Regions from separate parts of the Homo sapiens genome. Here regions 1, 2, 3, 4, 6 and 7 are each linked to region 5. The links are contacts of gene promoters, found by promoter capture Hi-C in human tissues and cell types (Jung and others, 2019). All regions are on one chromosome and are shown on one strand. Each heading gives the region's core, a stretch centred on a gene start or on the middle of the fragment in contact. The rest is flanking DNA. Distances are from core to core; before and after follow the strand shown. Region 1 overlaps ENOX1 (ecto-NOX disulfide-thiol exchanger 1). Region 2 overlaps ENOX1 (ecto-NOX disulfide-thiol exchanger 1). Region 3 overlaps ENOX1 (ecto-NOX disulfide-thiol exchanger 1). Region 4 overlaps ENOX1 (ecto-NOX disulfide-thiol exchanger 1). Region 5 holds the start of ENOX1 (ecto-NOX disulfide-thiol exchanger 1). Region 6 overlaps ENOX1 (ecto-NOX disulfide-thiol exchanger 1). Region 7 overlaps ENOX1 (ecto-NOX disulfide-thiol exchanger 1).

Region 1 (3,034 bases), core at 521-3,020, 180 kb after region 5:
ATGAAAGTAAATAAAAGAACTTTGAAATCTATTTTGTAACTTTGTAACCATATCTGTGAGAGTTACCTCTGCCCTCCTGAATATGAATAACTAATGCTGTCCCTTAATGAGAAACCACAAAATTGTGAAATGAAAGACTGACCCAAATAAAAGTGATATGTTCATTTAGTGCGTGAACTAATCCTGTTCGTTAACTAAGCATAAAGAGAGACATACTTTTCTTAATGGAAAATAAGTTTTCCCCAACTCCATCTAATAAATGTTGAATAAGTACTTTAAAAATATCATTTTGAATGGGTACCAAACCTTTAGCCTTTCTCAGCATTCACATGATCAAATCTCAGTTGGACAGATTGTGTGGGGTGGGTGTGGAGGATGAATGAGCAGGTACAAGCATACACAGTTGAATACACAGCACAAGAAAAGTGCTCCCATGCATGTAATTAGATGAGTCCCAGTTTGAAAAAGTTACAATTTATTTATCACCTGCAAAATGTTGCAAAAATATTACATAAATGCCAAGAGCACTTTGACTTTACAATATTATGTTGGAGAACTATCTGGACCCTATCCTGATGGCCAGGGCAGATGGTAGATATCATGTGCTAAGAACAGGCACTTTGCAATTCCCAGCATTTGGAAATCTGCCATATAAATTTGAAATGGGTCAAAGTGAAATGCTGAGATTCTTTTATACTTATGAGAAGGTGCAAAATTTCAAAACTTGGGAAAATAGGAAGTTATTTCCTGATAAAACAACTCTAAAAATGTTTGGAACCAAAGATTAATTTATCTTGCTCTTCTCCAGATGGACAGAAGATGGAAAAATTTCTTACATGAATGAAGTAAGTCCCTAGTAGTAGATTAATGTTTTTCTTACTTTTGTAATGGTCCTTTTAAATATTTGTGTTGATACACCTTACATTAATTGTTATGCCATAATAATGAAGTTATTACTTTTCAATGGAATAATAATATGTGTGCAAGCTTTAATGAGAGTCTGCAAGGAAGTGAAAATAAAATAAAATGACATGGTTTATGTTACAAATAACAAAAGAACATTTTTCCAATTGCATGTGTGACATTATATGTGGAAAAATAATTAGATGCTACATGTGCTATACTTTATAATTGCTTTGCCTTTTAGATTTGAATCTTAGACTTTTATCTCTTCTATGAGGTTGTTGTCATTAGATGAGAGGAGGCAGCATCAGAATGGTAGTGAAGAGATTCTAGAAAGCTCAAACTGTATATTCACAGTCACATAACTCACATCCAGAATTATTCATTGTACCAAAACATAAATTACTTACAAAATATAAATACAGCCACAGTGACTACTTTATTAAATTATAACCACTGGGTGGAGAAAATTTATGAAAATAAAAAAGAACCTTTAAGCTATCTATACAGTTGCAAATGAGTTATTAAGGTGTAGATAACCTAAGAAGTATCTTATGCAGGGGTAAAAGGAAAAAAAGCTTCATTCACAGATACATACAAATAGAAAGTAATGGATTGTGATTTTTTGGTTTGCTAACCATAAAGAAGTACCTATGTATATCCACCTGATCGTAAAAAGACACAGAGACAGGAAAAATGTCAGATCAAAGATTAGACTATAAAATACAAGGAAAGGGGCTCTAGCACTTACTGAGTGCCTGCTCTGTGTCAGGCACTGTGCTGGACATTTTATACACATTGTAATTTGAGAACGGAGAGTTCTGAATAGCAGAATAACTGGCAGAGCTTAGAAGGGGTGATGCCAGTTGGTTTAGAAATTCAAGTGATGAAAGGAGGTGGGTAGCTGACACTGACGTTAGAGGAGGCCCAGCAATAAGGAGTAACATTTAGGTCAGACCTGGACACTCTGCAGGGTGCCCGACAGGAAAGGTCTTCAGCTGTTGCTACCTGTATACCTCACTGATGGCTAATGGCGGTTTTGTGCTGGTTCAAAGCACATTAGTCATGAAGCAGGTCTTTGGTTCATATATAGGATGGGAGGAAAAAGGGAAAAGACCAAAAAGCAATCATGACATCAGGGTATTTATATCTGTTATCTATCCAGCCCCTCATCCACCCAATTTGAGATGGCAGAAGGCAGTTCTTGGTTAACTCCTATGACCAGTAGCCCTGAGCTCCTGTCACACTCATTTCTAGCTGCAGCTGTGCTTATTGTTGTGGCCCAGAACATCAGCTGGCTTGGAATGATGTCCCTCAGTCATCAAGAAGAAGTTGTATAATATTCAGTGTACTCTTTCAAAGATAAACACGGGAAAATGTATTCTAGAAAGATGAGTTTCATCTTTTCATTGGATTGGCGATTCCTTGAGGGAAGAAATGATCTCAGTCATCTTTATATCCTTTGACATCTAACACAATGTTTTTTACATAATAGTTAAAATATATGTGACATTAAATAGGATAGAAATAACTTCAGTTTCGGGGAAAAAGTCATATCATATTGTTTAAAGTCCGGTGTTCTTATTCTCAGGAAATTCAACCAGAAATGACACTTTGCCCTCCCCATGCTCGTACCCATTCTTAGACCTCAAAATAATGATGCTTTCATTTATTGAATTAAGGAGTCAATTACTGAAATGTCTTTAGTGAAGAGGATATGTTTCTAAAGTATTTTTCAGGAACACATAACAAAGGAAGATATCGTAAAGTGGTGTCACATGATGGAATGATTCCCAGCCATTCTGCATCATACATGCATGCCTGTTCCTGGATGTTTCTCTGCTCAGTGACTTGGTGCTTCCAGCCTTAAGCCATTGCAACTCCCTGAGCTCAAGAGAGGATTAGACAGATATTACCCAGAGACAAAGACCACAGACATTTCACAGGATGTCTCTACCAGAGGTTTTATCAGAGAATCCTTATATCTACCCATGCCTAACACATACCTCTGAAGATTCCAAACTTACCTTCAAGAGAATCAGCATCATGCATTAGAAAGAGCAGTAGGGTCTTGAGTCTGCAGGCTGGGACTTCAGCAACTGTACTTGCCCTAATTGGTGAGCAGTAACCT
Region 2 (3,179 bases), core at 647-3,146, 240 kb after region 5:
TGATTTATATCATGCTTTTTGTTTGTTCATTATCCTGCACTTCCTTTAATCCCTCTACTTGTCATTATCTGCAGGAACTAACAATTTGCAAAACCAGAAACCAAAGCAAAAGTGAATCGTACAAATGACATCAAAAAGGGATAAGGCAGATATATTTAAGTGAGCCAGTTTTAAAGAAGCGGTGAGTACTTTGACACCAGTAAAACAGGAACTTTTTCTTTGGGCCTTCGTTGTCAGAGCAACCAAGTGTCAAGCCCAGTCTGTCTTATGGGATAGCATTTTTTTTCTCGTTTGTTTTGTTTTGAGAAGTAAAGTAGCAAAATGGTGATGGTCCTACATTCACTATTAACTTTAGTTATTATTTATTGACTGCTCAATGCAAGATTTCCCAATTCAGCACATATGAATTGGTGTTATGACAATAGCTACCTAAACCTACATTAAATAATAGTATTCATGTTGAATTTTGCTGCTGTATTTCGTTTTTGTGTGCCATTCCCAACTTCTGGTGCCTCCTAACACCTGTCTTTAGGTACCGGTGGTGTCTCTAGGTTGCCTCTGACTGCTCAGATTTCCCAACCCCCATCTCCACTCCCCATATTTCCCCATACAGAATATCCCAGGTTCCAAAATTACCTCCTCTTCCTCTTCAATATTATTACAAACTCCCATTTTTTATCATGACTACTTCTATTAGGAAGGAGCAATATCCTTAAATTAATTGGTAATAAGATATCTGTGACCAGTGAAGCTCCTCCCTAATTCTCCTAGGGCTGTATTTTCACTTTAACAGAAAATGATATGCTATTTGCTTGGATAAGCAATCATTTGTTCATTCATTAGCTCAACAAATAACTGATTGCCTAGTCTTACCTTCATGTATTAAGACAGGCAGAGGACTACAAGGTTAGGTAGTTCTTTTTGGGTAGTCAGTCCTGGACCTCAGTTAATGACCCAGGCAAAACCATTCATGTCAGGCTTATTTTGGTCCTACTGTGTATACCCAGGAGTGCCTACCATGTAGGCAGCAGCAATTTCAGAACAAATGAGAGGGGGAAGAACAGTTGCAGAGAGGAGAGGAGAAGCAAGCTGGGACATGGAGATGCAGAGAAATAAAAAGGGAGGAGAATGTATAGCCAGAAGAGCTAAATTATTTAACCAGCAAGGTTTCTTCTGACCCTAAGATTCTGTGTAAATGAGAAAGAAGAAGGGAGGGAATAAGCTAAGGAATGAAAGGGGAATGAGGAGGGTTCTAGGAATATACTAAAAGGCTGCATTGTTTTCTTTTTTTTTTTTTTTTTAGTTAAGAGCCTCTAGGTTAATAAATATCTTATGAAGTACTGTTTATCTCCTAGAGCAGAGGTGAGCCCTTTTCTATGGCTTCTAGGAATTTCAAAAATCAATTGATGGGTGGCCTCCCTGGCATGCTCCTTTCATGACATCAGAGAATGTCTCCCACAATGAAGTTGAAACTGTCAATGAATACTTCGGTGTTTTATTTTCAAGCATTTTTTTTCTTAAGTCAGGGCTCTCAAAGAGGGTTGGTAAGAGATCAGAAACCTCTCAGAGTGACAGGGCGAAAGGTCCCTGCTTCTTCCTGGAGAGGTTGGAGATGACTCAGACATCAGGGTATCAGGTAGAGACCAGGTCAGGCCAGCAGGACATTAAAATACAGAGAAGCTGAGAACGAAACCCAGCTCCTCATAAAACCAGTGTTTTCTAAACTAAAGAAGCAAATGGAAAAAAATTAAGGCCTGCGTAAAGATTATTTAAATCATTTCATTAAGCTTACCACATACCCTTTAAGTCAAAATAACCTCATCTTGTCTGAGGTGGTGTGTGGACACAATTGTGCTGGGCCCATCCTCTCCTGCACTGGCTGAGTGTGCTGTAGAAGAGGAAAGGTGTAAGGAACAGCTAGAACAGCTTTGTGGGCAATTTTGCCATCATGATCGGGTGAAATTTAAATTGATATTAAGATACCAAATGTTCTTTTGCTTTTCAGTCATCGTATTATCAAATGTAATAATCAGTTGTTGCAGCTTATGAAGCCCATGACTATCAGATTTGACTAAATTATAATGTACCTTTTAAGATAAAAGTTTTTGGTGTATAAAAATGTTTTTATCTTAAAAGATAAAAAATGGGTCAGTAGTTTCCTGAAGCAGAAATATTCTGCATAATTTTCATTTTTTTCTCTCTTTATTATTATTTTTTCTTCCAACAACTTTTGAGTCAACAGCACCTCAAAAAGATAATACATCGTGATCAAATTGGTTTCATCCCAGGGATGCAGGGATCATTTAACATATACAAGTCAATAGATGTGATACATCACATAAATAGAATTAAAAAGAAAGGCCACATAATTTTTAGAAAATAAATTATCCCCTGAACTTGATCTAATTGCTCCATTTTGAAGCCTCACCATGGACAAATGTAAACTATGTTCTGTGTTAGGTATGCTATACTTGGAAAAGTATTTGAGAAAGCATATCTTGAAACAGCATCTGTAATTTTTATTTTATTTTAAAAATCCCAGTGAAGTTAAGTTTAGGATTGTGTATCTTTTTAAGAGTTATGCAAAATTACTTAAAAAAAATACTTGTCTCTTGGATATGATAATATTTGAAAGATGTTACTGGGAAAAAGCACAATGACACCAGGGTTTTGCTCTCTAAATATGGGTTACTTATGGTCTAAACTCTTAAACAGTTAAGAAGCAGCATGTTTTGTAATACGAACTCCTTTCCTTAATAACGTAAACTGCTGATCTAAATTGCTATCGTAATGTCACAAAAGGCTCATTGGCTAGAGATGATTGATTCTTTAACTCAATACAAAGTACAACTTCTTTGCTATGTCCACATACCCTGAAGATAAGTCTTAGAAACTTTGTAAGGAGGAGAGTTTTTGTAGTTTTTGAGCACATTATCATGGGAAAATTACTTAACCCCTTTGAGGCACTGTTTTCTCACCTATAAATTGGGCCAGTAATAATTTAACCCTCTCAGAGTTTTTGTGATAGCTGAGGCACTGAGCAGTGCAGTCACATCTTATCTCAAGCAAGGATTGGATATACCTTATCTGCAGTCAAGTAGAAGATGAGAAAGATGTGTAGGCAAAACTATTCTTGACATGTGCCTAATTTCTCATAAAGAACAGCAAATGTGGTTCTC
Region 3 (2,918 bases), core at 158-2,657, 200 kb after region 5:
AAGAGACACCAAGACTTGATAATTGAAAACAATCATATCTAAATCGCTTCCATTGGTTTTAAAATTTTGTTCCATGCAACTTTTGCTGGGGCCATAGAATGAAGGGTTAGGATGCGAAGTGCCCCACATCTGCCACATTGGCATCACCAGAGCAGCCCTGTTTTCATCATTTGTTTATTGAGGATCTGAGCAGAATTTCACCTCCAAGAACAAAAACTTGAAACTAGTGTAGTCTATCTGACACAGTAATGAGGAAACCACGGCTCAGAGGCCATATGTCTAGGAGGTATGGGAATGAGGCTCCAGTAGGACTTTCAACTTCAAATTCCAACCTCAACTTCCCTATATTGAAGTGTCAGATTGTATTTTAGAGATCATACTGGTCCACATTACAGGGTTGTATTTTAATCTTATTCATTATTTTTTTAAGGGTTATATGGATTTCTCAGCCACACTCACATCAGAGGGAAAAAGTAGATTGTTGTAAGCGTTATGACGATTACTGATTGTCATTATCATGTAAAAGAAATGGAGATCTTAAAGAGTAATGTGACTTTTTTGATCTTATAGTGATTGAATGCACTAAGACTATGATCCAGATGTTTTCACTCCAAAGCACTTATCTATACATTTTGCTTTAATAAGATAATGTTCAATCTGTCATGAAAGTATGTCAAAAAATTTTAGATGTATTTGTATGCTTTAATTTTACTAGGTCAATATGAGAAAATGAAATTAACTATATATGTTAATTAACAGAAATATACTTAATCTGGACTGAAATTTTTTAAGGAGTTAATTAGAGATGAAATTTTTTGCTAAGCTTATCCCGTTTCACTTCAGAAGCATAATTTGGGTCTCCCTTTCCATTGCTTTGTTAGAAAGGCAGATAACTTAAAATGCAGTCTCTGCCTTCAACTGTCTTTCCTGTTATAGATTTTTTTTTTTGGAAAATGCAAAGAGAATTCCATAAATGGAATTGGAGGATACCTCCTAAAACTATTTCCACATGGTTTATCTAAATCATTGTTTCTGATATTTATGGCTTCTAAAGTGAAGTTGTATCAACTAATAGTTGAAGAATAACTGTATTTATTTTTACTTTGAATGAAATTGTTATGTACCCACATAAATATATAACATGTTTAAAAATAAAACTCAGAGAATTTTCAGAAGCTCTGATTTCAGTCTAATGGTTCCAATTATGAAGTGGAACATCAAGTCAAGATGAGCTATACTGTCAGTGCATTAGACAGCTCTTTGCAATAGGTGATGTTTTTATTATTCCAGAAAAAATATACTGATAGACTATCCTAGCCATCATAAAGATTGGAATTGACATGTAAGTACTCTATAGGTAAAAAGCCATTCTCACCTGTCAGGGATATGTGTCAGCAATATAGGGCTGTTATCAAGAAGGTGAACATGATCTGGGATTGCATTAACCAGAATGTATGTAGTACACAAGAACCATGAAATTTACTCACTGTGTTCACCATTGATAAGGTCTATGTTAGAGCCTAATTTTGAGCTCCATATTTTAAACACAATATTAGGAAATTGGAGATGGGCCAGAGAAAAGTAATGGATGATTTGAAAGTAAAAAACTTATCTATGCTGAAAATTGAAAGAAAGTGGAATTCTTTATAACCAAGAAAGGAAAGCATAGAAGTAGTTTTGCGTGGGTCCTCATCTGGAGCAAAATTGAGACTGACAAGTGCTTCTTACCCTAAATCTATCTTTTAAAATGAAGGTCTTAGCATTAGATGAAGTGGCCAGGATATCAGAGCTGATTGTTCTTTTACTATTTCTTTTTTTTTTTTTTTTCTGAGATAGTCTCGCTCTGTCGCCAGACTGGAGTGCAGTGGCACAATCTTGGCTTGCTGCAACCTCCAACTCCCTGGTTCAAGTGATTCTCCTGCCTCAGCCTCCTGAGTAGCTGGAATTACAGGCACGTGCCACCACGCCCAGCTAAATTTTTTTTTTTTTTTGTATTTTTAGTAGAGACAGGGTTTCACCATGTTGTCCAGGAGGGTCTCGATCTCCTGATCTCGTGATCCACCTGCCTCAGCCTCCCAAAGTGCTGGGATTACAGGCGTGAGCCACCGCCTCTTTTACTATTTCTTAAATCTTGCACCTGCTCACTGAAAACACAGGAGTGTGAGGACATGGTGTCTGACTGGGCGGGTATCAACTGCTAATTCTGAAAGTAATTCCAAAGCCAAATATGAGCTGAAAGTAAAAGTAAGCTAATGTGGCAGGAAAGAAGGTAGGCTAGCGGTTATGAGAAAGGAAGTCTTGCCCCCTCCTCTTCATTCAGAGGGAGGCCTCAGCTAGCCACTGCAGACAAAGAGATGAAGAGAGGTCCCAGCCCTCAAGGAGCTCACTGTCAAGAGCCCGCCAACACAGTTGGTTTAGTACTGAAAGATATTTAGGGGTTTGTCAGTTAGAGGAGCAGTGAGAGAACAGCAGACAAAGGCACAGAGTCATGTTGAAGCACCAGGTATGAATGTCATGCTGGTCAAGCAGCAAGTTTGACCAGGAAGCAGACATTACAGTTGGATGCCTAGGTAGGTGTCAAACTGTGAAAGATATTTTATCAGGTAAAGAAAGGTGATTTTCATTCTGCTGTCAATGGCAAGCCATTTGTCTTGAGATATTTCAGATTTATGTCTTAGAAAGACCCTCTGGGGCAGTTTGGTGAATGGCCTGCCCAGCTTGGGGTTGGCGAAGGGAGTGGCCTGAGCAGACGTAGGGAGAACAGTAAGGAGCCACAGGCTGAAGTTTTCTCTCAGAGAGTAGCTGTGGAGACAAGGAAAGATGGATGGAACATAGACGCTTTAGGAAAAGATAGGCTTTTACACATTCTCACCGTAAAGAAATGATAAATATTTCAGATGATACATATTCTAATTAGC
Region 4 (2,969 bases), core at 65-2,564, 140 kb after region 5:
TTCAGAATTGGATTCATTTTATGCCTCAGCTTAGCCCCTTCTCACACAGTAAGGCATCTGTAGAACAAACTAACCAGGGTGTGAAGGTAATTTGCGTTGCCCTGCATTGTTTGCGTGTGTCTGGGAACTCTGGGTTGAGACAGATTACTTGGATGTTCTAGTTTTACTTTTATAGACAACCTATGAAAGGGGTAATTATGAGATGTAATTATTGACACTATGACAACCTGAATAAAAATTGAAGTTGTTTGTACTATTTTCCCATAGATATTAGAGCAAGACATTACAATAAATGAATTGAGTGGCCTGTTTTGTGTGTGTATGATTTGGATATCAGAGACCATCATTCCTACATGATATGACACTTTATTTGCCACCTTCACGCTTTGACATTTTTGTCATAACTAAATGTGCAGTAGAGACAGCTGTGGTCTGCGTAGGCTCTAGCACTGTGTCTGGGTCTAACCCTGAGCAATGCATTTGGTTTCAGAGCCAGTGTCGCTGATACAGGTTGCAGCCAGCACAGGGAAATCTATCACAGTAACAGCAATGTAGCCGTCACAGGGAGTCTAACCACATCCATATTCAGATAAGGAGAACGCTGAGTACTCTCACTGAAAATGATATGCAGGGACTCTGGGATAATGCTGCCTTTACACTGTTCATAAAATATGGTAAAAATAAAGCCTTAAAAGTCATGCTTGTGAAGAGTGGAGACAGGAAAATTAGAGTAGCAATTCACACAGCACACTTTTCCTTGGAGTGAGAAGTCATATCAATTTCTCAAAAACAGGTATTTCACCTCTTACAGCATCCATAAGAAGGCTAGGTCAGCCACGAGTTAGTGGCTTATGAACTCTCTTGGACCTTTGCTTAGCTGGCAAATGTCATTTCTTAGCCTTCCATCCACCCAAATCTGGGGTTTCTGTTTCCCCAGCTCTGCCCTCTGTGTTCTCTATCTCATCATCTTATTTTATTTTCTTCACAGCACTTTCTACTGTTTGCAGTTATCTAATTTATTAATTGGCTGCTTAATCTCTATCTGTCAGCTTTGAGTTGTAAGCTGCGTGGTTGCAGAAGCTGACCATGGCTCTCTGGTTCACTGTTGTTTTCTGTAGCCCAAAGAACAGTGTCTGGGCTGTGGTAGGTGCTCAATATGAATAAAAAAGATGAATCAATGAATGAATTGGTGAGTAAATACATGCTTTCCTGTTGCTTAACCCTACAGAATAGTCCCAGTACTGGGTTATGATCTTTCCCTAGTGGAAGAATCCAGAGATTCTATTGTTGCCCTAATAAATTACCACAAACCCAGTGGCTTGAACAACACAGATGTATAGTCTTAACAGTTCTGCAGGTCGGAAGTCCAACACAGTTCTCACTGGGCTCAAATCAAAGTGTCAGCATGGCTGAAGACTTTGGGGGAGATCCATGCTCTTGCCTTTTCCATTTTCTACAGGTCACACACATTCCTTGGTTGTGATGCCTTTCTGTCTTCAAAGCCAGCAATGGTGGGTCGAGACCTTCTCATTCTGCCATCTGTCTGGTTCTCTACAGCTGAAAAAGGTTCTTCGTTTTTAAGGACTGATGTGATTAGATTGAGTTTACTTGGAAAATACAGGATAATCTCCCATCTCCAGGCCATTAATCATAATCACATCTGCAAAATCTATTTTGCCATATAAGGTAACATATTCATGGGTTCCAGGAAATAGACGCTGGACATCTTTGGGGGTTTGGTGGTAGTCATCATTCTGCCTGTCACATGGATTTATTCACAAAGGGGGTATAGGGATAGTCAAGCCCAAAGCCTCATTTCTCTTCCAGAATGTATATTGCAGAACAGAGAGTCTTCCTAAGTCATTTATTCATTCCACAAGAAATATTTGTGGAACTTGTCACATTCTTCTTGATAATTTGGTTCCTGATGGCAGAGTGAGCCTAGATTGCTGTTTTGCAGGGTTGGATATGGAGACCCTGGGGAAGTTCACCTGAATTCCTAACCAAGCCTGACAATCAGAAATTGGGCTTCTAACCAGAAAGGGATCAGTGTGTCTAAAAGGGACTCAAAGCAGTTGTAGTGGTAGCAATGGTGGTGTCAGATACAGTAGTTTATTTATTTTATTCAATCTTTATAATAATCCTACAATAGAAGCACTATTATTATCCCCATTTTACACATGATGACACTAAGGCACACAAAGGTTAAATAAATTGCCTAAGTGACTGAGCCAGGAGTGACTGGCTAATGAGTGAATGAGACAGGATTTAAAATCTCAGGCAATCTAGCTCTTGACTGTGTTCCCTAACCACTGCACTTCCCTGCCCCTTACAAGGTCCATTAGAGAGTAGCCAAAGACGCCTCTGAGAGGGCCAGAATGGGTGCTGAGACCATCTATTGGCCTCCTTGGTTTTGTGAAGTAGAGAGAACATGGAATGGTAAGAAGCTTCTGCTTCCTTGGTTACCAGATCTGGGCCTGGATCAAGCCACTTCAATTCATTGAGCCTCTGTGAAGAGAAAATAGAAATTTTGCTTGTCTGCATCTCTAGTGTGGGAGAAGGATAAAACGATTATTGAGACGTGCTCTGTAAACGTTGCCCGTTACTATCTAGTGTTGTATCCATCTAAATGATGAGGCGAGAAGGGAAAGTGAGTATGATCACCTCAGTGCCCCAAGACTCTATCTGGCTTTTGTCACCCTGGGGTAAACTGGAGAGCATGATTGAGACATGAAATCTTCCCATATCCTCTGTGAGAGAGGGTGATTGATGACAGGGATTTACAGGTTAGCCTGTGACAGCATGTAATCAATCAGCGCATGAGAAGGATAGCTTGTCTTTGGTGTACAGATGACGATTCTAATAACCCAACAGTGGCCACCAGAAGGAAAAGACTCCTGCGCTTGTCTTCACTTCCTTCATTTCAGTAGCTGCAGAGTCGTCAGGCAGTCCCAAGAATTTCATGTATG
Region 5 (3,001 bases), core at 136-2,635:
AGCTTTGGCCCCCTCACACCCAGGGCATCCCACTGGGGTCCCTGCAGAGTGCTTCTACATGCATCCTTTGTTAAGGGTGCACAATGGATAAGTATTATTTTCTTTCTTTGCATTGGGGTTCTGACCGCCAGGGGGAAAAATAGCCACACACAAGGAAATGGCATAAGTTAAAATCAGGCAAGCCTAGTGGGGTGGTAATGACTTTCCCAGCATCCAAGTCTTTGCCTTCAGGTTACGTGAAGCTAGAAAACAATGTCATTCATTCAACATTTACAGGGAACTCACAAAGTACAGAGTACTATGCTAAGCACTGGAAGGCATGCAAAAGTGTGCAAAACACAATCCCTGCATTGAGGATTCCTGCCAGAAAGGGTATTTCAAGTATTACCCAGACCTTACGACCCTTGAAGAAATGCTTGTGTGAATAAAATCCCACTCAGAATTTAAAATAAGCAAGGAAAAGTATACTACTAAGACAATATATCTGTTAAGAGGCAGAGAATGTAAATGTGCTTTAAACATTTATTTCTGAAGTATTACAATGTAGTTGGGATGGAGGATCGGGGGATGTGGGTGTGTGTGGGGAGGTGGTGGGAGCGGTTCTTGGACGAGCCTGACTCTAAGGAGGCACTGCTTAGATGCCTGCACAGCTAAGTTGAATCCTAACAAAGAGGAGGCCGGCATTCTTACCTGGGAAGTGGGTAACTTTGAGAAAAAGTAGCCTCCAAGGAGGAAAAAAAGGCAACATGTCACCTGGGGTTAGGATCCCCTCACCCTTACCAACCTGAATGCTGACCGCACCCCGGCCGAGCCACTCTGGGCCGCACACCCCGCATCATCTGCCCAGGCCACGCGGCCCAATTCCACCGTCTACCCCAAGCCCACAATCCTGTAACACGCCCGCTCCAGCCTGGAGTCGGCCACGTGCGCCCGGGTTCTTCTCTTGGCCCTTCAGCGGGCCCGGCCCCTCCAAGGTCGCCGTAGCAACCGTGCGGTCCCTCTCTCGGTTCCCCCGCTCCCAGTAGAGCAGTCCCGACCGCGGCGGCGGTGGCGGGAGCGAGCGGCCTCGGCCCCTCCCGAGAGGGGGCAGCGCGACCGTGGGCTGCGGGCGCCGCCTCTGCTGCATCGGTGGCTGCGCGCTCCGCTCGGCTCTGCCGGGCTGGGATCCGGAGCCCTAGCGCGCCTCGCTGACTTCCCCTCCTCCTCTGCTGCCGCCCCGTGGGCAGCTTCTCCAAGCGAGACACGCGTTCGATCCTCCTTCCCCGCGTTTACGGATTTCCGGGGTCGTAGAATTTTGCCTCGGTCCCTACGAGCATCTCTCGGCCTCTCTCCCCCTCCCCTCGCGACTCCCCCACCCCGTGGGCGCGCGCGCACCCATACACTCACACTCGCAGGCGCGCGTGCGCACGCCCGCGCGCCTCCAGCCGCGGAGTCTCCAGCGCCCCTCAGCAGATCCCCGCTCTCCCGGGCGCCGCTACTCACACAGGCTTCCAGCCGCCACGGGGCGTCCTCTGTCTGCTGCAGCGGCGGCGGCAGCAGAGGGAACGGCGACTGCAGCCCGGCCGCGTCTCCCAGCTCCGTGCCCGGGACAGAGTCCGGGAGAAGCAAAGGAGGAGGAGGACGCCGAGGCTAGGAGGAGCCGCGCCGCGCCCGGCGCCCCACTCCGCGCAGCGGGTTGCCTCCGCTCCCCATACGGCGGCCCCAGGTAAGCAGCTCCGGGGCCCGCAGCCTCCCTGGGGCGTCCGGGCTCCGAGCCGGGGTCCTCTGGTCTCACCCCCGCCACGGCACCTGGATCTAGACTGAGAGGGGAGTGGGCGAGGGGGGAGGGGAGTGGAGCTAGAGGTGAGGCTGGTGAGGAGGGGTGCGTGGACGCGTGGGGGCTTCGGTGCAGCCCCCACGCCCTTCCCCGCCGTGCCCCGTCTCAAGCTCCCTCACTTTTACGCGCCCGGGGGTGCCCAGCGCCCCAGACAGCTGTTCCCCGCTCTCCCCTCCGCCCGCCAGCCAGTGTCAGCTCCGGGCTCCGCGCCCGCCGCGCGCCAGTCACCTCCCCTGCACCTTGGACAGCGCACCCCGCACCCGTCTCCCCCTGCGGGCGTCGCCCCCGGGACCCGTTCCTGCCCACACAGTGTTCCCGCTGCCCTCTTCTTTCAGGTTTTCACCCTCCCGCTCTGCATCCCTTTTCCTCCAGCCTTGGCGGACTCCGCTCTGCTGCGGGCCGGAAACTTTCCTCCCCGCCTAGTCTGCGCTGGGTACTGTTGTTATTCGTGACTGTCCCCTCTCGCGGGGAGCTCGGACACCTTGGACAGGTCTTCGTCGGCGGGAGCGCGCCCTGCCTGGCCCAACGCGAGGTAAAGGAGGCACTGGGGCAGCCGGACTCGGCCGCTGCCAGGGTGCAGAGCCCGCGCCTCGGCCGCTGGACGCCGGCCGCCTCCCCGCCTCTCCGGACCCGACACGTGCGAGCCTCCCACGGACGCGGCCCCTCCCAGACCACCCCACGTCCTCCCCCTGCACGGCCACAGCCACCCCATAGGTTGGACACCCGGGGCTCGCGGGTCCTGATTGGCTGAAGGCGTAACCCCGCCCTCTTTCGGAAGGGGGGTGGTTCTGGAGTGTTGTGGTTGTCATCCCGCGGCGAGCACATGGGGAAAGTGGGGTCGACAGGTGGGCAAGCCCAGCTCTGTGGAATCTCTGCGTCTCACTGTATAGCCACTGAGCCACGCTTCTTCACCCAGATACACTCCTGCTTCTCTCCTTTTCTCTCCCTCAATCTTTCACTGCTGTAACATTACATGAAAAAAACTGGCTTTGTAATCCCAATTTTGTTAAGATTGCATTTGTTTGGTGGTAGCAATTTTTAAAAGCAGACCCAGGAGAATGCAGGAAATACGTGCGTATGGAAAGGTTCCTGGCCAACTGGGCTGCAGATTTGAGTCTGGTAGTTTGGAGAAAGCAATGAAGCGTGCTTAAGGGATCTGAAGAGGGTGGAGAAAGTGGGAAGGAA
Region 6 (2,999 bases), core at 180-2,679, 250 kb after region 5:
GAACTATTCTGGGAGAGGAAAGGGGTAGACATCAGGGCTGTGGACGAGGAGTGTGGTGGTTGGAAATTTTAACTCAGCAGTTGCCAGCAACACTGAGCCTGTTCTTCAGAACACAAGCCTGTAGCCCAGGTGCAGTTATCCTAGGCCCAGAGGAGCCTGGTTAAGGACCCAAGTGGGTTGCTACTTACTCCACTATGTTTTCTTGAGAAATTATTTCTTGAGGATCTAAAGTGTGTTTGTGGTTGGACTCATACAACGGAAAGGGTATGTTGGATTAAGGAGGCTGTGGCTTGGTTTACAACAGTAAAAGCCAGTGCAAATTTTTGGAGGACAAATTCAACTTTTGCACTTGAAAATCACTAATAAAGATTCCCACACTCATTTTACACTAAATTACGGAATAAACAGCATCAATGTTCACAGTTTGAGAACCTTACATGGCTGTACTGTCATTTAGTTCTACTCTCTTTAGCATTCTGGCAAGGATATCCTGGCCTACTAAAAAATGGGTGCTCAAACGCCTCCATAACAATGAAAATTCCTCAGTACTTCAGAATACATTTTAGGGAATATAGTCTGCTTCAGAGTTACTTAGGTAGGTCTCCCAGAGACCATTCGAGTTTAATGAGGCTAACTCTGTATATATTTAATTTGTTAAGTAATATAAGGCATGAGAGAATGGCATTTTATAGAATTTGTATGCTTTCAAACTCTGGGCAGATGTTTTTTAATTTCTAAACTAATTTTAAAAATTAATTAGTGTAAGTAATCTGATTTAAGAAGTCTAGAGTTAGAAAACGTATAAACTGGGCCATGTCATTAAGGGCCGTGTGCATCACCAGTGATGGACTCAGAGGTAGTGAGGACAGGAAGGTAGTTGGGTGACAAAACTCATGTACCCAGGACTCTACCTGATAGAATGCCAATCAGAAATGGAAAAAATATATCAGAGACTTCATGAGAGCTAAAGGAAAATACTCGATTTATTGAAATAAATTGTATTCCAACTTCTTTCAGTGTTTTTCTGTGGAAATCCTAGAAAAATGACACAAAATATTGAGAAGGGAGAAAAAAACTCAGCAGGAGAATGAATGTAGGCACCCATAGCTGAGGGGGCTTTATCTAGTCCTAGATCCTCTTCTTCAATCAGCCCTCCTCCTGGGGGAAGATATGATGACCATGAACTGTGGCTCCAAAATCAGGTCATTACTCACCGGGTGCACATTTCTCACCAGGCCCTTTAGGATTTACGTAGTAGTCCTCGTTTTCAAGAAATGTATGTATATTCCAGGGCTAAATAAATTAAGGCATGTCCATGAAAAAGATCACTGTGCTTTCTGTAAAAGTGCTGTTATAAACTGCACGTCTCAGACTTTTTCTCAGTACTTCTTAATACTCGTAAAAATTATTTGGGGCTTCAAAAAGCTTTTGTTCATGTGGTTATATCCATCAATACTGTATTAGAAATGAAAATAGAAAATTTTAATATATATATTTAATATATTTGTATATATATTTACACATTTAAAAATAAAACACATTGTTTAACATAAGATACTCTTTAAAAATATATTTTTGAAAACAAAACATATAACAAGAAGGTTAGTATCCTTTCACATTTTTGCAGATCTTTTTAGTGTCTTACTCTGGCTTGATGGAAGACATTTGGATCCTCGTAGCTGCATTACTATTCAACCTGTTACGATGCTTCAGTGAGGAAAATGGAGAAAATCCAGCCTCAGAAATATAAGTAGTTGTAAATAGAGGAGTGTTTTAATAATTTCTTCAGATAACTTTGGATATTGTTCTTTGATACTACATCAACAATCAAAATCTGCCTTGTTTCTTTTGAATCTTATAGCAGTTTTACCAACCATTGCTTTTGCCCCATCGGTGCAAATGTCAACACAGTAAAAAAGGCAAAAAACATTTTAGTATTATGAAAATAGACTTAGCCTCCCAGACCATAAAAAAGGATCTATCAGGGACATCTAGGGTTCTGTGGACCATACTTTGAGAACCACTGTCATAGAAGAACATTTTAAAATGTAAAAAAAGTCCACAGTGCATTGTTAAGTGACAAAGGAACAGAATTGTTATTAACATTATAGTTTAAGAGTTACAGATTTTAAATTAAAAATATGAATAATAAAGAGAAAAACTGGAAAAGTATATACCAAAATGTTAAACTGGATAGAAAATAATACCATTTTATTTTCTTCTTTTTCTTTATTTTAACAGAGCTATTTATTCAGTCTTTAACATGTTAAAAATTAAAACTTTTTTAACTTTCTTTTTTTAAATTTTATTTTATTATACTTTAAGTTTTAGGGTACATGTGCACAACGTGCAGGTTTGCTACATATGTATACATGTGCAATGTTGGTGTGCTGCACCCATTAACTCGTCATTTAGCATTAGGTATATCTCCTAATGCTATCCCTCCCCCCTCCCCTCACCCCACAACAGGCCCCAGTGTGTGATGTTCCCCTTCTTGTGTCTGTGTGTTCTCATTGTTCAATTCCCACCTATGAGTGAGAACATGCGGTGTTGGGTTTTTTGTCCTTGCGATAGTTTGCTGAGAATGATGGTTTCCAGCTTCATCCATGTCCCTACAAAGGACATGAACTCATCATTTTTTATGGCTGCATAGTATTCCATGGTGTATATGTGCCACATTTTCTTAATCCAGTCTATCGTTGTTGGACATTTGGGTTGGTTCCAAGTCTTTGCTATTGTGAATAGTGCCACAATAAACATATGTGTGCATGTGTCTTTATAGCAGCATGATTTATAATCCTTTGGGTATATACCCAGTAATGGGATGGCTGGGTCAAATGGTATTTCTAGTTCTAGATCCCTGAGGAATTGCCACACTGACTTCCACAATGGTTGAACTAGTTTACAGTCCCACCAACAGTGTAAAAGTGTTCCTATTTCTCCACATGCTCTCCAGCACCTGTTGTTTCCTGACTTTTTAATGATCACCATTCTAACTG
Region 7 (2,996 bases), core at 246-2,745, 220 kb after region 5:
AGGCAAGAAGGCAAAATAATATTCCACTGTCCTCAGCTTAGTTAAGGGTCTCTGTTTTGTTATTTGAGCCAAACAATTCCTAGCATTTGCTTTTAGGCATTTTGTGGCCTATTCATTTTTTCTCTTGGAAAATTTAGGTGCAAAGGTACAAAATCTTATAATCTAATGAGGGAAGGGGTTTATGTGAGCATGGAAGGGCTGGTGAATTGGGGAGAATTTTTTTCCAGCCTGATTCAGTATTTTGCTTTTTGTTTATCTCTATGTATTATAATGTATATGTATGTGTATATATATATTTTTGTTTATATATAGCAACCTTCATTTTTGTCTCAGAAAATGCTCTTCATAAGTAAGTTGCCCTCTAATCTCTTAATTTTTCTTCAGCCTAGGAGACCTTTCTGCTCACTACCCCGGTGACTGCCTGCTCCTGCTTTGAATCCTCCCTTCCTTTTACCTAAGATTGTCTGACTCCTTGCGCATGCACCACCCCCACCGCCCCACCGCTTGTCTGATATATACACACACACAATAGCAAACAGACGTGTAGAGATTGCTGGGAAGGACTTAAAGATTATCCACTTCAGCCCCTTCACCTCACAGATGAGGAATTGGAGGTCTTATATTTCTCTATTTTTAAACAACCTCCTTGAAGTGTAATTTTAAGGTTTGATTTTTGTTTGTTTGTTTGTTTGTTTTTTGAGACAGAGTTTCATTCTTGTTGCCCAGGCTGGAGTGCACTGGCACAATCTCAGCTCACTTCAACCTCTGCCTCCAGGGTTCAAGCGATTCTCCTGCCTCAGCCTCCCAAGTAGCTGGGATTACAGGCATGCACTACCACGCCCGGCTAATTTTGTATTTTTTTTTTTCTTTTTTAGTAGAGGTGGGGTTTCTCCATGTTGGCAGGCTGGTCTCAAACTCCTGACCTCAGGTGATCCACCCACCTCGGCCTCCCAAAGTGCTGGGATTACAGGCGTAAGCCACCGCGCCCGGCCTACTTTTAAGGTTTTAAGGCAATAATAATTAAGCACCCGATTCCCACCTTGAGTTCACATCTAGTTGAGAAGCAAACATGAGAGTGAGACAGATGGAGTGTATACCATAAGCTTTATTACCAGCATGACCGAATTGGAGAATGTGACTTACATCTGTGACCACTTGGACTTAATACAACTCCCTTCTATGTAAACTGAGCCCCCAGTTACAGGCATTGGTAGACAGCCGTCATCCTCCTCTGCTGTGGCAGGCTGCTTAAAGCATAACAGAATAGGAGATTCTGTGCCTTTTATGAATTTAAGGGAGGAAGATAATGAGCTAGTCATGTTCAATTTCTTCTCCCAAACTCAAAAATCAGATAAATTATTCCTTCCCAAGAAGAAGTGAATGAGAAGCCAGAGACTGTATCTTCTGGTGGAGTTGATGTTCTTTCCCCTTTATAGAAACATGAGAAATGAGGGAATAGGCATTTATCAACAAAAGGGATTATGGAACCATTTGCCTAGGGACATCTTGCCTAAAATATACAATATGTAAAATGTTGTCGTGCAAACAGTAGAATCCTTCCTGCTTTGCCCATTAGCTGATTCCTTCTCACCACACCTTTCCATCCCTCTTCCCCTCCACTTCTCACCCAGATGGCCACTGAGGGCTTCTTGCTTAAGCCACAGTTTCTGTAATGAGTCTGGATGAAAGGCACTCATTCACTCTGACTGACTGCAGTTTGTTCTATCCCGGGCTTTTGCCTCCACTGAAATTGCTCTCGATGTCGTGCTTTGCCCTGCACACCCCTTTCTTCATATTAGAAAATTCATCTCATCTGTTTAGCTTTCATCCCACTTAACCATTATGAGATGCTAACATGATCGATACCCCTTCTTATTTGAAATTTTAATGTCCTTGGCCTCTGAGGTCCTCCAGGTTCTTCCTTATCATTCTTCCCAGTCTTCATCTATCCACATGTTCTTCATTGGCTCCTAAATTTGGGGCCAAATTTTTAGTGAACTACAGGGTTCTTGCCACTTTTTCTAGTTTTTCATTTCTATGTGCATCTATGGCTTCCGCTACTGCCTATGTGTTGCTGACTCTCAGATGACCATCTTCAGCTCCAAACCCCTTTCCTAACTCTAAGCCCAGATTTCCCAAACCCTCTAATTTCTTCTGTGGTACATCTAACTGGGACTTTGAAACGTGACTATCTCCAAATGAAACAAATGGCATCTCACAATGCAGTCTGCTCCTGTTTTTCATTTTCCTTTCTTGGATAATATTATCACTATTCCCTTTTTCTCCCTAATGGAAAATCTTAAAGGTATCCTCAGTTATATTGAATGTGTCCTAAACTATGCTGGGTGCTAAGAAAACAGAAAATTAAGACAAAGTTCCTGCTCTCAACCAGTTCACAGATACTAATTTAAACTAACAAAGCACCTGATTCGTGCAACTATAGAAATATTTATGGGAACAGTGCAGAGCTAACCCAGAGAAGGGAATGATTAACTTTTTCCAGGGTGTGGTGTGGGATGATTATGAACTGGGTTTTCAAAACCAAGTCAGAGTTTGTCAAGCAGACAAAAAAGCAAAAACACCAGTGAAGAGAAGCAGAACTTTAGAAACATCGTGGTGTAGTTAAGGAGCTTTAAAAGGCTCATTGTTGGAGAATGATGATTGGTTGTATGAAGCTGAGCAAAACAGCAGGGACCAGATGGAGAAATACAGTTTTTTTTTTAAACCACTAAGGAGCTTGCCCTTTATATTCTAAGGAAAAGATTCTAATAAAGGATGAGTTGTCGTCTCAATCTGCCTCTTCATGCAGTAATGCCAGGGGACCCTTCCTCTTCTGAGAGTGTCACTGGGAGTCTCTTTTATCTTAATCTGTGAGCTACAATGAAGTCAAAGGTTTCAAGAAGAGAACATAGGTCTCTGAGCCATAGCAAAGAGTCTGAGGTATTGATGCAAGGGAACAGAATGCAGAGAATAACCAGCAAATTGATTAATGAAAG

The links. The method cuts DNA at HindIII sites, captures the fragments that hold promoters and counts their contacts. A contact is called where the count stands out against the background at its distance.
Region 1: a fragment that was not itself captured here is called in contact with the fragment with the promoter of ENOX1 in region 5 in 3 of the 25 tissues and cell types used here (dorsolateral prefrontal cortex, hippocampus and mesenchymal stem cells).
Region 2: a fragment that was not itself captured here is called in contact with the fragment with the promoter of ENOX1 in region 5 in 1 of the 25 tissues and cell types used here (lymphoblastoid cells).
Region 3: a fragment that was not itself captured here is called in contact with the fragment with the promoter of ENOX1 in region 5 in 3 of the 25 tissues and cell types used here (dorsolateral prefrontal cortex, lymphoblastoid cells and mesenchymal stem cells).
Region 4: a fragment that was not itself captured here is called in contact with the fragment with the promoter of ENOX1 in region 5 in 2 of the 25 tissues and cell types used here (heart left ventricle and stomach).
Region 6: a fragment that was not itself captured here is called in contact with the fragment with the promoter of ENOX1 in region 5 in 2 of the 25 tissues and cell types used here (dorsolateral prefrontal cortex and mesenchymal stem cells).
Region 7: a contact is called between a fragment that was not itself captured here and the fragment with the promoter of ENOX1 in region 5, in 3 of the 25 tissues and cell types used here (H1 embryonic stem cells, dorsolateral prefrontal cortex and hippocampus).

The regions. Positions count from the first base shown.
Region 1 is chr13:43,607,694-43,610,727 of GRCh38, reverse strand. The region is part of intron 2 of ENOX1 (ecto-NOX disulfide-thiol exchanger 1); the gene reads left to right. Among named protein-coding and RNA genes, the nearest start is that of ENOX1-AS2, 160 kb to the right of the region's middle. The HindIII fragment of the contact is 4,739 bases long and covers 1-3,034 here.
Region 2 is chr13:43,550,469-43,553,647 of GRCh38, reverse strand. All of the region lies in intron 2 of ENOX1 (ecto-NOX disulfide-thiol exchanger 1), which reads left to right. Among named protein-coding and RNA genes, the nearest start is that of ENOX1-AS2, 100 kb to the right of the region's middle. The HindIII fragment of the contact is 3,515 bases long and covers 139-3,179 here.
Region 3 is chr13:43,585,982-43,588,899 of GRCh38, reverse strand. The region is part of intron 2 of ENOX1 (ecto-NOX disulfide-thiol exchanger 1); the gene reads left to right. Among named protein-coding and RNA genes, the nearest start is that of ENOX1-AS2, 140 kb to the right of the region's middle. The HindIII fragment of the contact is 3,281 bases long and covers 1-2,918 here.
Region 4 is chr13:43,646,464-43,649,432 of GRCh38, reverse strand. All of the region lies in intron 2 of ENOX1 (ecto-NOX disulfide-thiol exchanger 1), which reads left to right. Among named protein-coding and RNA genes, the nearest start is that of ENOX1, 140 kb to the left of the region's middle. The HindIII fragment of the contact is 7,722 bases long and covers 1-2,969 here.
Region 5 is chr13:43,785,356-43,788,356 of GRCh38, reverse strand. It overlaps ENOX1 (ecto-NOX disulfide-thiol exchanger 1), which reads left to right and starts at 1,385. Exons shown (of 17, transcript NM_001347969.2): 1 at 1,385-1,705. The HindIII fragment of the contact is 9,406 bases long and covers 1-3,001 here.
Region 6 is chr13:43,531,388-43,534,386 of GRCh38, reverse strand. All of the region lies in intron 2 of ENOX1 (ecto-NOX disulfide-thiol exchanger 1), which reads left to right. Among named protein-coding and RNA genes, the nearest start is that of ENOX1-AS2, 84 kb to the right of the region's middle. The HindIII fragment of the contact is 6,928 bases long and covers 1-2,999 here.
Region 7 is chr13:43,569,393-43,572,388 of GRCh38, reverse strand. The region is part of intron 2 of ENOX1 (ecto-NOX disulfide-thiol exchanger 1); the gene reads left to right. Among named protein-coding and RNA genes, the nearest start is that of ENOX1-AS2, 120 kb to the right of the region's middle. The HindIII fragment of the contact is 4,751 bases long and covers 1-2,996 here.